Linked DNA regions of Homo sapiens: region 2 is linked to region 1. The links are contacts of gene promoters, found by promoter capture Hi-C in blood cells and fetal thymus (Javierre and others, 2016). All regions are on one chromosome and are shown on one strand. The core of a region is centred on a gene start or on the middle of the fragment in contact, and the rest is flanking DNA. Distances in the headings are between cores, read along the strand shown.

The links. Contacts are between HindIII fragments. The CHiCAGO score rates a contact against its expected background, and 5 or more counts as called.
Region 2: a contact is called between a fragment that was not itself captured here and the fragment with the promoter of GOSR1 in region 1, in 1 of 17 cell types (endothelial precursors). The highest score is 5.7, in endothelial precursors.

The regions. Positions count from the first base shown.
Region 1 is chr17:30,474,584-30,482,138 of GRCh38, forward strand. It overlaps GOSR1 (golgi SNAP receptor complex member 1), which reads left to right and starts at 2,825. Exons shown (of 9, transcript NM_001007025.2): 1 at 2,825-2,881; 2 at 6,560-6,674. The coding sequence starts at 2,851. RefSeq lists enhancers at 2,569-2,718, 2,869-3,088. The HindIII fragment of the contact is 3,772 bases long and covers 2,022-5,793 here.
Region 2 is chr17:30,711,376-30,718,930 of GRCh38, forward strand. It overlaps the pseudogene SUZ12P1. Among named protein-coding and RNA genes, the nearest start is that of CRLF3, 110 kb to the right of the region's middle. The HindIII fragment of the contact is 1,609 bases long and covers 3,771-5,379 here.

The sequences.
Region 1 (7,555 bases), core at 1,575-4,074:
GCTGGAGTGCAGTGGTGTGGTGATGGCTCACTGCAGCCTTGACCTCCAGGGCTCAAGCAATCCTCCCACTTCAGCCTCTTGAGTAGCGGGACTATAGGGCGCATCACCACGCCTGGCTAATGTTTAAATTTTTTGTAGAGATGAGGTCCTACTATGTTGCCCAGGCTGGCCTCAAACTCCTGGACTCAAGCAATCCTACCACCTCAGCCTCCCAAAGTGCTGGGATTAGAGGCATGAACCACTACATCCAGCCCGATAATTAAAACATTTAAAAATTAAATCAACAATTTCACTTCTGGACAAAATGGATTAGCTGTATTTCTTTCTATTTTTCCCACTAAGCACAGCAAAAAAAAAAAAAATCATATATATATATTTTTAAAAAGACTCAAAAAGGTGGAAAGAAGAAGGCAGACCAGCTAAGGACCTCAGAATGTAAAGAACATGAAGGTGAGTTCCCTGGGTTTCCTTTTTGTTTCCTATGTCCTATACTGGGTGCTGGAGAAACTGGCAACCTAGAAATGCCAAAGGGTGCAGACAAGAAAAGTCCAAAGGAAAATGGAAAGCCTTCTCTCTCCAGACAAGGGATGAGGAAACAGGTATCCTAACAAGACAGAATACTTTTGGACAATAATTTCACCACTCTGGACAAATGCCACAGAAAAAACTGAGGCCCATCTTCACTCCTTGCCATCAAAGGCTGAGTGAGGAGGCTAGGCTTCCACACTCACCTGGCTCTAATGAAGCACTCCACCCATCCCCCACTTGGACTTCTCGTCCATTGCACAGCAGCAATGAGGCTCCCTGCCATGGTGGCAGTGGGGACCACATGCGGAGCAGTAACAAGGCACCCCCTCCCTGGGGAATCAGTGAAGGCCAAGGGAGAGCCTGAACTTCCACTGCCACCTGGAAGTAGCAAGCATTTCCCTATGTCCCCCAGCAGCATAGTGTCAGAGGAAGTCTGCTTAAACAGAAGACATAAATAAGATCAGAATCTCATAACAAATACCTGAAACATCAGGATACAATTTATAAAAATTGTCATTCCAATAGCCCAGAGAACTTCGACTTGAGTGAAAAAAAGACAACAGACCCCAACATCAAGATGACACAGATGTTGGAATTATCTGATGAGGACTTTAAAGCAGCTCTAATAAAAATACTTTAGTGAGCAATTACAAACAAACTTAGAACAAATGATAAAACGAGTCTCAGCAAAGAAACAGAAGATATAATGAGGAACTGAACAGAAGTTTTAGATACGAAAAATGCAATAATTGACATGAACTCAACGAATAGGCTCAACAGCAGAATGGAGGGAACAGAGGAAAGACATACTTTCTGTCAGCAAATCTGAAGACAGAATAGTAGATAGTACCAAATCCGAATGATGGAAAATAGACTGAAAAAAAATTAGCATAACTTCAGAGCTATGTGGGACATTAACACAAGATCTAGCATTCACGTCATCAGACTCCCAGAAAAAGAAGAGAAACAGTATGAGACAGAAAAAGTATTGGAAGAAACAATGGTTGAGAATCCCCCAAATTTGGCAGAAGACATAAATGTCAGAATCAAGAAGCTGAGGATATCCCAAACAGGATAAATCCAAAGAAATCTACACCAAGGCACATCATAACTTCTGAAAACTAAAGAACAGTTCTTGAAAGCAGTGAGAGAGAAAATGTATTTTAGCTACAGTGGAAAAACAATTCCAATTTTAGTCAATTTCTTATCTGAAACTATGGAGGCCAGAAGGAATTGGCACATTTTTCAAGTGCTGAAGAAAGAAATTGTCAACTTCAGATTGTATATCTGGCAACAATATCCGATCCCCCAAGAATGAAGGGAAATCAAGACATTCTCAGATGAAGAAAAACTAATAGAATTTGTCACCAGCTGATCTACTCTTTAAAAAAAAAATGGCTGAGGGAAATTCTTGAAACAGAAAGGAAACGATTAGAAAAAGGAATCTTGGGACACTAGGAACGAAGAAGAGTAAAATATGCATAAATCAAGTAAGCTTTCCTCTTCTCTTGAATTCTCTAACTTATGCCTGACCCTTGAAGCAAATATTGTAACACTGATGTGGTTCTCCTCAATGAATGCAGAGGAAATACTTAAAAACAACTATATTATAAATGAGTGGGGGAAAGAACTTTACAGGAATTAAGGTTTCTACACTTCACTAGAATTAAGTCAGCACCGGTAGACTGTGATAATTTATGTATCTATAAAGTGTGGGTTTGGACAGCAGATTTTATCAGGTTGAGGGCTCAGGCCGAGAGCATGTAGAAGCAGTTAGCTCACTCTTTCTAGATGTGGCGGCTGACAAGGACAAAGAGGGCTGGGACTAGAACTGCTGTAGACAAGGAAAGCAGCCAGTGGAGAAGAGCGCATACGCCAAAGAACGTGGATGATGGAGCACAGGCGGGGAGGTAGGATGAAGGAAATGGCTCTGGGAAGAAAGGGTCTCTATGTCTGAGAAAGGAAGAAATTGGCTGAAGATACAAATTAGAGACAAGGTGAGGGAAATTGAGGGAGTTGCCTGAGGATGATTCTCCTCCCAGTCAAGTAGGCACCTGCTGAGAGAAAGGATAAGCCGAGATGAGGGAGATGATGATGGTTTGGGGCGCAGAAAGCGGGAATGAAAGACAGGAGCTAAAGCCGAAGTTTTTTCTCTCTCGCTACTTAAAAGCTGTAAGATAACGAATTGATCAGCAGGTGGCAGTGTCCGCGGAGGCTCGCATCCCGTCGGCCCTGGCTCTCAAGGCGGAAACACGCACCATGGTGACTTTCCGGCCTGCATCGCCTCTGCTCCCCTATCCCGGCTGACGTTGGACGACAAAGATGGCGGCAGGGACCAGCAGTTACTGGGAAGGTGAGGGCGAGAAGGCCTCCGGGTGCGTCCTACGAGGGTGAGAGGGGCTGAGTGAGGACAGATCTTGGGAGAAGCAGCACAGGAAAGAACCAGACTCCCGGAGCGGCCGAGCTGAGCAGCGGGGCTTGCCTAAGTGGGATCCCCGGGGCCTTGGGGATACCGAACGGTCTGGGGTAGGGGTCTGGCCTGGCCGGGGCGTGTGAGCGGGACGTGGGGCAGGGGTTGGGCAGAGTGGACAGAGCGGGGATGTAGAGGAAGAGGGCTCTCAATCGCCTGGGTAGAATTGTGTTGAGGGAGTAATGGAACTCGGACGAAGGGGCTTGGGGTACGAACTCTGAGAGGAAACGAATGTTGAGGGAGAAGATCCAGAGCCCCGGAGACTGGAGGAGTCAGCGCATTGGAGCTGAGGTCACTATTGGAAAACTGAGTGGGAAAAGAGAAGGAGGAACTTGCATTCCGGTCCGTCGGAGGAAGTATGAAGAGAATAGGAGACAGAATGTCTCTTATTGGGTCTCCATGACAACTACAGGTTGGGGACTTCCAGGACTGGGTGTTTGAAGGAGGAGAAAATAACTTACCCTTCTGCTCTAGAGTCTAGAATCGGTTTTATTGAAAAAGTTGAGAGAACCTGTGTGAATTGCAGTTACATTTGCTATACTTCTCCCACCAAAAAAACCTTCCTGTGATTTGACAAATGCATTTGTTTAATTCCTGAAACTATAGTCGGATAAAGTGAGCTTACATAAAACTCATTCGTGGATTATGATGATCAACAAGAGCAGAGAAAGCTCACCTTTTTCTCCCAACTGTCTCTTTGCTTTACAGCCGCATAGAAACTACTTTCCAAATTCCTTTGACCTGTTTTTATTGCTATACACTGAAGCCTCTAGAAACCACAGTATTGTCACTATCAGCCCCTTGGTCTAAGAAACTCAATTCTAAATTTATCCAGATTTGCCTATCATACTTTCAAAATGCTTTTACTTATGTTTCCTACTAGAGAAGACAATTATTCCAATCACAGAAAAGCGTGCTTATAGTTTAAAACATGTATTACAATGCCCATTTGAAATGTGTGTACCAGCTAGAAAACTTTTTTTTTTTTTTTTTTGGAGACTCGCTATGTCGCCCAGGCTGGAGTGCGGTGGCGCTATCGATCTCGGCTCACTGCAGCCTCCGCCTCCTGCGTTCAAGCGATTCTCCTGTCTCAGCCTCCTTAGTAGCTGGGACTACAGATGCATGCCACCACGCCTGGCTAATTTTTGTATTTTTAGTAGAGACGGGGTTTCACCATGTTGGCCAGGATGTTCTTGATCTCCTGACCTCGTGATCCGCCCGCCTCTGCCTCCCAAAGTGCTGGGATTACAGGTGTGACCCACCGCGCCTGGCCGCTAGAAAACATTTTAAAATTATGTAGAAGAGGCTACTGATATCTTTATTACTAGTCATTAGCCTGTGGTTTTTTGAAGCAGCATGCTATAATATTACAGCGGCTCATTACTGACAACCTACTCTGTGCCAGCTGCTGTAAGCATATGATTACCAATACATAAGCAAACCCTGAAGGTAGGGGTTTAAAAAACAAGAAGCTGAAGTTCATAGGTTAAGTAGATTGTTGATAAATCATAGAGTCAGTAAGTGGCTGTGCCGAGATTCGAACTGGCATTTGGTCTCTGGGCAAATATGCTCCACTATGTTAACTACGCTTTCTATTTCTGGTTGAAAAGCATATTGAAATAATGTTTTGTATTCTTTTTGAAAGAGAGATTCTTATACCATTACCTCTGGTACTTCTGCCCTTTTATTTTAACCTTCACTTCACCATGAATGAGAATACTCGTATCTGTGTGTGGGTGTCCAGACTGTGGCTTCTGTCACGCAACCCTTAGATGCCAGACTGCTAAACCAATTTCTCTACTTGCCTGTTTGCTTCTGCTATTAAAACTTATGTACTTATTTCTATCATACTCATATTCGACCTTGTTAGTAGCACATTGTTTATTGTTAGTTTTAGCCCTCCAAATTACTTTCAGTAAGTTTTTTTCTTTTTTTTAGATGGAGTCTCGCACTGTCGCCCAGGCTGGAGTGCAGTGGCTCAATCTCCACTCACTGCAAACTCTGCCTTCCAGTGCCTTCCAGGTTCACGCCATTCTCCTGCCTCAGCCTCCTGAGTAGCTGGGACTACAGGCGCCCACCACCACGCCTGGCTAATTTTTTGTATTTTTAATAGAGACAGGGTTTCACCGTGTTAGCTAGGATGGTCTTGATCTCCTGACCTCATGATCCGCCTGCCTCGGCCTCCCAAAGTGCTGGGATTACAGGCGTGAGCCACTGCGCCTGGCCTCAGTAAGTTTTTTAAAGGCGGTTTTTGGCCAGGTGCGATGTCTCATGCCTGTAATTCTAGCACTTTTGGAGGCCCAGGCAGGAGGGTCACTGGAGTTTAGGAGTTCGAGAGCAGCCTGGGCAACATTGTGAGAAAAAACAGAAAAGAAAAAAAGAAAGAAAAAGGCAATTTTTGTGGTAACTTTTTTTCTTTATGTTCAATTGAGAAGTCATTTTGGTCCGGGCGTGGTGGCTCACACCTGTAATCCTAGCACTTTGGGAGGCCAAGGTGGGTGGATCACTTGAGGTCAGGAGTTAAAGACCACCCTGGCCAACATGGTGAAACCCCGTCTTTACTAAAAATACAAAAATTAGCCAGGCATGGTGGTGTGTGCCTGTAGTCCCAGCTACTTGGGAGGTAGTTGAGGCATGAGAGTTGCTTGAACCCAGGAGGTGGAGTATGCAGTGAGCCAAGGTCATGCCACTGCACTCCAGCCTGGGTGACAGAACGAGACTCCATCTCAAAAAAAAAAAGAAAAAAAAAGGTAAGTCATTTTGCTATTATGAAAAGAAGTTCATAAGCCTAATAAAGCTTTGGAACATAAAAAGCAAAATCCCTTTCAAAAGAATAATGGCTTCTTTCTTATAACATTAACTGGTAAGTTGATAATGCTGGTCATAAACCATATTTTTAGTTCCTTTGTGATTTGTATTATCTTCTTGTTTTTCTCTGAATTGCAGAATTTTAGTTATTGCTATACAAATAGTTTCAGGAAGGATAGAACAACATTTGTTTTCTAGCCATCTTTGGAGTAAAGCTGCGAAGTTGCATCTACCATTACTATTTCCCTTCTTGCCCCCTCTGAAGTTTATAAGTGACTAATCTGCTTTGCTGGGCAAGTCCTTGGTTTCCTTCTTTTAAGACTTTTATTTTCCTTTTTTTGAGACATAGTTTTGTTCTTGTTACCCAGGCTGGAGTACGATGGCGCAATCTTGGCTCACCGCAACCTCTGCCTCCTGCGTTCAAGCGATTCTCCTGCCTCAGCCTTCCGAGTAGCTGGGATTACAGGCGTGCGCCACCACACCTGGCTAATTTTCTATTTTTAGTAGAGATAGGGTTTCTCCATGTTGATCAGGCTGGTCTCAAACTCCCGACCTCAGGTGATCCGCCCACCTTGGCCTCCCAAAGTGGTGGGATTACAGGCGTGCACCACCGTGCCCAGCCAACACTTTTCTTTATGGGGGTAACAAGATCAGTATATGATCATTTTCATAGTTTGTTTTCTTTAGAATGGTGCTGTGATTTTTGTGTCTACTTTTTATGTCTAATTATTTGTTGTTATAATTTTGTTAAAGATCTCAGGAAACAGGCTCGACAGCTGGAAAATGAACTTGACCTGAAACTAGTTTCCTTCAGCAAACTATGTACAAGTTACAGTCATAGCAGTACCCGAGATGGAAGACGCGACAGGTATAGGTACTACCAGATTCTGTCTCCTATGCCTTAACTGTGTTTTTAAAGCATTAAAAAATAAACTAAAATATATAACTTCTGTAAGTTGGTCTATTGGTGAATTTTTGGTGTTTTGTTTTGCCATTCATTGTTTTATTTTTTAGTGACTTATTAAAATTCTTCTGAATTCTCGAGACTAGCATTTATTTGGAATCCTTAGGCAAAGATTGTTACAGTGTCAGAAGAAACCTGCTAGAACTTCAGAATAAGTTTGTATCAAAAATATAAGTGTCTAATTCAGCCAGTGTAGGGAAAAGGTGGCTGATTTGCCCGTGTGGCATGTATTTCTTGTGTTTTTCAATTGCTAAATGGACCTGTGGATCTACCCAGGTGCCAGGTATACATACTGCTTTTCTGGTGTTTATTGTATTAGAGGGTATCTAATGCACTGTGTATCCTTGTTATTAATTATCAAAGCTATCTTTAATTTTGGTACTTTTTTGGGAAACTAGTGTATTACCATATTAAATGTATGGAAAATACATTCTTATCTTTGAAGCTTATGCTCTCTGTAAGTCATCCACTTGTTTCAAGAAAATATTGGGAGTAGCCAGGCACAGTAGATGACGCGTGTAATCCCGGGACTTTAGGAGGTTGAGGCGGATGGATCACTTGAGCCCAGGAGTTCAAGACTAGCCTGGGCAACATGGTGAAACCCTGTCTCTAAAAAAAATAGAAATAAAAAAAAATTTTTTAATTAGGCAATATTTAAGACAGTTACAAAGAATAATATCATGAACCCCCATGACCCTATCTCCCATTTTTAAAAAATGATAATTACTCATTCCACTGAAGCCCCTTATGGCACCCCACTTTCTCCCACCCCATAATCCACATAT
Region 2 (7,555 bases), core at 3,325-5,824, 240 kb after region 1:
GAGGGTCCACACCCCTCATTCTCTTCTCCGGTCTGCCCCACGGCCCGGGGGCAGGGGATTGATTCTGCGTGGGCCCCTGTCAGGCCCCAGCTTTGGGGGGCAGGTGACTTCTCCTTCCTCCCTGCTCCCCTTCCATTAATGCCAAATTTATTACTTAAAAGTAGGATGAAAACAGGGAGAATAAGAGAAGGTTTACAATCTTCATTATCATATCGAGAAAATTATCCGTGATTTTCCTAACTAGCAATTTGCCTGCCATGCCGTTCAGAACTGACTTGCCCATTAATTACAGAGATGAAAAATCATCTGGAATTCGGAAAAGGGAACTAATTCCATGGCTGGCAGCGATCGCACCCGTGCACGGAGCCACATACATGTGCGACATACGTGTGCGCTCACATGTAGGTCCCGGCCCTCTTGCTGGTCTTGCCACCATCTTCCTACCCAGCTTGGTGACCTCCCTCATGGCCTTGCTCGGTCCACCCCATGTGTGTGTGGCACCTGCCCTGGGACACCCCTGCAGGCCCTCTTTCTCTCCAAGGGGCGCCCATCTCAATCCCCACTTCTGGGAAGCTTGCGTACCCCGTGATCACCCACGCTGATTCCTGCTCTTGGGGGTGTAGCTGGCGCCCAGGGTTGGGGAGGATGGAGAGCTGGGGACCAGCACACCTGGGCTGTGGAGCCTGCAGGGAGGGGGTGGAAGGGGGGGACTTGAAGCCCAGCTTCTATTCCCAGCCTGCCCAGGGGAGCCCTTTCTCCTGGGGGGCCTAGTAGGACCCTGTGGGCACGTTGGGGAGGAGCCTACAGGCGCCTCAGCTGCACGGGAGTGTGTTTGCATCCAGCAGTTTGGGCCCCCGGCCGGTGGCGTCTCCACCTGCACGTGAGGCTGTGTGATGCTTGCAGGCATCTCGGTGGGGAGGGTGGCAGCGGGTGCCCCTCAAGAGGAACAGGAGGAGTGGGAGCACTGCCATCCCCGCTGGAGCATCGTCTTTGCCCTCCACCCCCTCCTTCCTCCCTGGCGAGACATGTGGCCAGGGACACACAAGGCTCTGGGTTCTGTGTGGGTTCCTCTCACGGATCTGATTTCCACATGCCAGACACTTCCCCTTCTTCCAGCCCCTCCGTGGGGAGGCAGGGAGAGGGGCTCCCGAGGCGGGGGTTCCCTGGGTCTGAAACCCTGACCCCAGTGACCCTGAAGGTGCCATGGCAAGACAGACAGCTCCTCCCAGGCTGGGTTTGGGGCAAAGTGGTTGCTATTGGGCACCCTGATGGAAGGGGAGAGACGGGTCCTGGAGTGAGGTGGGAGGCCAAGTAGAAACATGGAGGGGGTCCCGGTGTCCCCAGAATCCAGATGTCTGTCTGTCTCTCCACCTGTGCATAGGTGTCCTCTGCCTGTGTGGCCTGGATGGTGATCTAGCCAAGGGTGCATGTGGCCACGTGACCATCAGGCACATCCGGTGTTCATAAGGGTCCCTTGTGTGCTGGTGTTTGTGTTTTGCAGAGGGGGTGGTCATGCTGGGGGAGGTAGGGCTGCAAGAAGGAGTAGTTGTCTGTGTGCACACATGGAGCTGTTTGCATCTTTTGTGCACCTGCAGTTGTGTGCTCAGGATTTCTTGGAGCAAGGCTGGGTGCACCTTGTCATGCAATCTGCACACACTTGCCAAGTGCCTTCCCCACCCAGCACCATGCGGGGGGTGCCATGGGGGCTGGTGGCCACGTCCTGTCCTCATGGAGCTCACACTCTAGCAACACATATGGGGTTTCCATCAAAGCTCTCCTATCAGCTGGGCGTGGTGGCTCATACCTGTAATCCCAGCACTTTGGGAGGCTGAGGTGGGTGGATCACCTGAGGTCAGGAGCTTGAGACCAGCCTGGCCAACATGGTGAAACCCCATCTCTACTACAAGTACAGAAATTAGGCAGGCATGGTGGTGTGCACCTGTAGTCCCAGCTACCAGGGAGGCTGAGGCAGGAGGATTGCTTGAATTCAGGAGGCGGAGGTTGCAGCGAGCCGAGATTGTGCCACTGCACTCCAGCGTGGGCGACAGAGCAAGACTCATTCTCAAAAAAAAAAACCCAAAACAAAAAAGCAAAACTCTCCTGTCATGCGAGTTGGGGAGAAGGCATGTGTCTCCTTTTCGAGGGTAGCCCCAAATTCTGACTGCAGTAGCCCACAGGCTTGGACTGTCCTGGGGTCTGGCCCTTCATGGTCTTTCTGGGCCACCTCCTCCCTCCTCGTTGCTCCTCCAGTGTGCTAAGTGTGATCCTACCCCGGGGCGTTTGCACTGCTGTTCTGCCATCTAGGACCCTTCCCCAGATATTTGCGAGGCTTTTTCTCCCCCACCCTCTTGAAATATCACCTCCCCAGTAAGGTTTACTCCCAGGCACCTTCTGCAGAGTCTCAGCTTCCCACACCCCTCCTGATGTTCAGTACAGCAGACGGCTTTTCACATAGGCTGTAATTTCCTGATGTTCTGCGCTTGTTTGTTTACTGTCTGTGTCTGTGAGGAGGATCCAAGTGCGCGAGGATGTTGTGATTTGCTTTGCTTTGGGAATCCCAGGTGTCAGCAGTCATCACTGGCCCACAGTGTGCGTTCAAGAAGTCTTACCTGACCCAGGTGTGGTGACTCACACCTGTAAACCCAGAATGTTGGGAAGCCGAGGTGGGAAGATTGCTCGAGGACAAGAATTTGAGATCAGCCTGGGCAACATAGCAAGACTCGTTTCTAAAAAATTTTTTTAATAGTTGGGCATCGTGAATATGCACCTGTAGTCTCAGCTGCTCAGGAGGCTGAGGTGGAAGGATCGCTTGAGCCCAGAAGTTTGAGGCTGCAGTGAGCTATGATTGCACGAGTGCACTCCAGCCTGGGCGACAAAGCAGGATCCTGACTCTTAAAAAAAAAAAAAAAAAAAAAAGGCCCCTGCCTTCACTGTCTCCTGTTCCAAAATTTGGGGGGAGATAAAAATTCAATAAATAGATGCCCAGGCCAAAAATAGCCTTGCCCCCCCGCCAAAAAAAAAAAAAAAAGCCTCAGAATAGTCAGTGCCCCTCCCTCAGAGGCTAAAAATACCCTGCAGGTCACAAATGATCAGGTCAGGAAGCCAGGTGGATTCTCCTTCCTGTCCTTGAGGAGGTGAGGGGTCCGGGGCTGGCTTTCTCAGACAGGATTTCCCAGATGATTTCCATTACTCCTGACTTTGGCACTGCATCATTCTCTGTGGGAGGCTGTCCTTTGTACTATAGGATGCTCAGAGGCCACCCTAGCCTCTTCCCGATGGATGTCAGTGACACCTCCAGCCCCACAGTTGTAACACCTCGGAACGTCTCCAGACATTGCTAAACATACTGGGATCAGGGGCAGAATTGTCCTGGGTTGGCAGTGATGGCTGTAGAGTAGAGGTTGCCAGTGGGGCAAGGTGGCCCACGCCTGTAATCCTAGCACTTTGGGAGGCTGAGGCAGGAGGATCACTTGAGTCCAGGAGTTCAAGACCAGCCTGGGCGACAAAGCGAGACCCCCTTCTTTACAGAATAAAAAATTAAAAAATTCGTTGGGCATGGTGCTGCACGCCTGTCGTCCCAGCTACTCGGGAGGCTGAGGCAGGAGGATCACTTGAGCTGGGAGGTCAAGGCTGCAGTGAGCTGTGATCCCGCCAGTGCATTCCAGCCTGGGCAACAGAGCAAGACCCTGTCTCAAAAAAATATATACATAAATAAAATAGAGTAGAGGTTGGCTGACTTTCCTGTAGAAAGCCCGATGGTAAATCCTGCAAGCTTTGCGGGCCGCAGACGGGTTCTGTGGCCTGTTCTCTTTTCTCTTCTCTTCAGTCCTTTAAAAATGTAAACACCATTCTTAGCTCACCAGCTGTACAAAAGCAGGCTGGGGCCTGGCCATGGTTGGCCGACCCTGCCCCAGAACGCCCCCTAGTGGCTTCTGGGAGTGAAGGCTGGGCAGAGGGGCGGCCCCATTTGGGGAGCAGTTGTGTGCTTAAAGTACAAGGCGAGTCCCGCGCAGTCTGTTCCCGGCACCTCCCTGCTCTCACCTCCTCCCACTCTCCTCACCAGCTCACGACCCGCTTCCTCGATGCAGCTGCCACCGTTATTCAAACATACAGGCACAGTCCAGCCCCAGGGCCTTTGCACGGGCTGTGACCCTGCCTAGGACGCTCTTCTAACTCTCCTGAACTGATCACCTGCGTGCTCCTCCCTCAAATTCACAGAGGTTTGCTAAAATGTCATCTTCTCCAGGGGAGATGACCTTTCTTGATCATCCTGTTGAAAATTGCAACAGCCGGGCACAGTGGCTCATGCCTGTAATCCCAGCACTTTGGAAGGCCGAGGTGGGTGGATCACCTGAGATCAGGAGTTCGAGACCAGCCTGACCAACATGGTGAAACCCTGTCTCTACTAAAAATACAAAAATTAGCTGGGCGTGGTGGTGGGTGCCTGTAGTCCCAGCTAATCAGGAGGCTGAGTCAGGAGAATCGCTTGAACCTGGGAGGCAGAGGTTGCAGTGAGCCAAGATCATGCCATTGCACTCCAGCCTGGATGACAGAGCAAGACTCTGTCTCAAATAAATAAATAAATAAAAGAAAATAAAATTGCAACAGCCGGGCATAGTAGCTCATGCCTGTAATCCCAGCACTTTGGGAGGATGAGGTGGGAGGATTGCTTGAGTTCGAGACCAGCCTGGGAAACATAACGAGGCCCCCATTTCTACAAAAAAATTAAAAATTAGCTGGGCACGATGGCACACGCCCTGTGGTCCCAGCTACTTGGGAGGCCGAGGCAGGAGGATCCCTTGAGCTCAGAGGCTGTGGTGAGCCATGATCCCACCACTGCACTCCACCCTGGGCAACAGAGCGAGACCCTGTCTTTAAAAATACGATTAAAAAAAAAAAAACACTCCCAAACCCACACACACTCATAGCCACTTTTCCTGGCTTTATCTTCTTTCACAACACTGGTACGCTACAGAGTCGACTTTTTTGTACCCAGCCCCTCAGTGTCTGGCACATAGAAGATGCTCCAAAAAAGATGTGTGGAATTGCCAAAAATTATTTCTAACCCCCACAGCCACCCTGGGATGCTATCGTTCCCCAGCTCCCCCGTGGAGAGACAGAATTGAGAGGAGTGATGTGGGTGTCCTGTCGTGCCGACATGACGGCGCACAGCCTGGATTTGAACCTGCAACTTAAGGGCGCTATGCCCGGGGCCTCTTCTCTCCTGCCCTGCTAGGCACCATGCCCCCGTCTCCTGGTCTCACCCTGCCCCTTAACTGCCGGCATCTGATGAGGCAGGGGGATCCCGCCTCTGTGCCCTCTGCTCGGGCCCTAGCTTCTAGAACTCTTCAGCTCTGCTCTGCTGAGCTCGGAGTGCAAAGCTTGGGGCTGGACAGTGAACACTTTGGAGTGGAAACAGACCACAGGCCACAGGCCACAGGACCTGCCATGATGGTGAGCACAGCAGAGGTGCAAGTCAGGGAAGGCTTCCCGGAGGCGGGGGCTTCCCAGCTGCAACCTGGAGTGGGAGGAGGGGTATGGCGGAGGGGAAAGAGCATCTGTGAGAGAGAGGGGCTGCCCTGAGGTCAGACAGAAGGTGGTGGCTCAAAGGGGAGGAAGGAGAGATGTTTCACAACTGCACATGGAGAGAAGCTGGAGGCTGCTGGCTGGCCTTGTGACTGTGAGTCTGTTTGGTTTGTCCGTGGGGCTGCCAGGGCCTGTGGCAGGGATGGGGGTAGAGGTAGGGGGTTTATGTCAGGATCCAGATGTCAGGGTGAGAATGTTTAGCATGAGCTCCCTCTAGCTGCTACATGGGAGAGAGCCATAGTTGGCAGGAAGGGAGGCCAGGAGGCCAGAAGGGAGGCCAGGAGGCAACCAGCAAGGTGAGGGCCAGAAGCAGCCAGCACTTGGTGGAAGCTTCAGGTTTCTGGCTTTGACAGCCCTGTGGACAAAAGGCAAGGGACAGGTGGGGTAGGGAGTACCCTCCACTCCCAGCAACCCTCCCCACACACAGTCTGATCTCCATCTCTGTGGCCAGAGGACACCTGTGAACACCCGAGCCAGATCCCATCCCTCCTTTGTTCAGGATTCCCAATGGCTCCCACCTCTCTAGAAAGCCAAAGTCCTCCTTGAGGTCCACAAGGCCCTGCATGGCCTCTGTGACCCCCCTCCCCAGCTGCCCTCACCTCCTTCCACTCTTCCCTTGCTTGCAAGGCCCCAGCCACATCTCAGCACATTCCTACCCCAGGACCTTTGCACGTGCTGTTCCCTCTGCCCAGAATGCTCTTTCCACAGGTACCTAGATGGCTCACCTCCTCAAGACCTCTGCCAAAATGTCACTTTTTAGGGGAGGTATTTCCTGGCCACCCTGTCTACAGTTGCACCTACACGTATACCCCCTCTCAGGCACACCTTCCTCCATTGCACTTGTGACCAGTTGGGAACTCGGTAAACATCCACTGAATAGATGATCTGCTTTTTGGGTCTATTTCATCTTCATTCATTAAACAAATGAACAAGCATCCACTCCTTGCCCAGGGCTGGGTATGCAACAAGAGCCAGCCCAACCCGCAATGGTACTTTGCCCTCAGAGTCCCTCGATGGTGGAGAAGACAGACATTAAACAGCTGAGTCCAAGTCCAGTTAGGGGAGCAAAACACAGAGGCCCTGTGTTCTGTGAGAGTGGATATGAGAGATACGAATGCCGTCCTCTGGGCAGAGCCCTTTGGAGGGAGAGCAGAATAAGGAACTGTGTGTGAGAGAGAGACAGACGCTGAGTAGAAGTGATGGGAAGGTGGCAGGACAGCAGGGCCTGAGATGCCATGTTAGAGCATCACAGGCAATAGGGAGCCATGGAGGGTTGTAGGCAGGGAGGGGTGTAATTGGATTTCCATTTTGCAAAGATCATTCTGGCCTCAGGGTAGAGACTGGATGGGACAGGGGTAGCAGATAGATGGGGAGACGAAGGAGAAGGTGTCGGGGGGGTGCAGGGAATTTTTTGAACGACCCCTACCGCTCTGCAGTCTAGTGCTGCTTGGTGGCTGGGGTGACCTTTATTTTATTTAGAGACGGAGTCTTGTTTTGTCACCCAGGCTGGAGTGCAGTGGCATGATCATAGCTCACTGCAGCCTTGACTTTTTGGGCTTGAATGACCCTGCTGCCTCAGCCTCCCAAGTAGCCAGGACCACAGGTGTGTGCCACCATGCCTGGCTAATTTTTAAATTTTTGTAGAGAGAGGATCTCACTGTGTTGCCCAGGCTGGTCTCAAACTCCTGGCCACAAGCAATTCTGCATTGGTCTCCCAAAGTGCTAGGATTACAGGTATGAGCCACTGTACCCAGCTCCAGGGTGACCTTTAAAAGGTTCTTCATTGAACAATTATATTTCAGCTTCCTGCTTGTGCCAGGCACTGTGCTGAGTGTAGTATGCAAACCCCACCCTGCAGAGCCAGCATCTAGTAGCAGAGAGTTCATAAGCAAATAAAACGCATGGCGTGCTGGTGATAGGTATGGAGAAATCAAGTCAGGACACGGCGTAGGAGTGCGGGGGCCAGCAG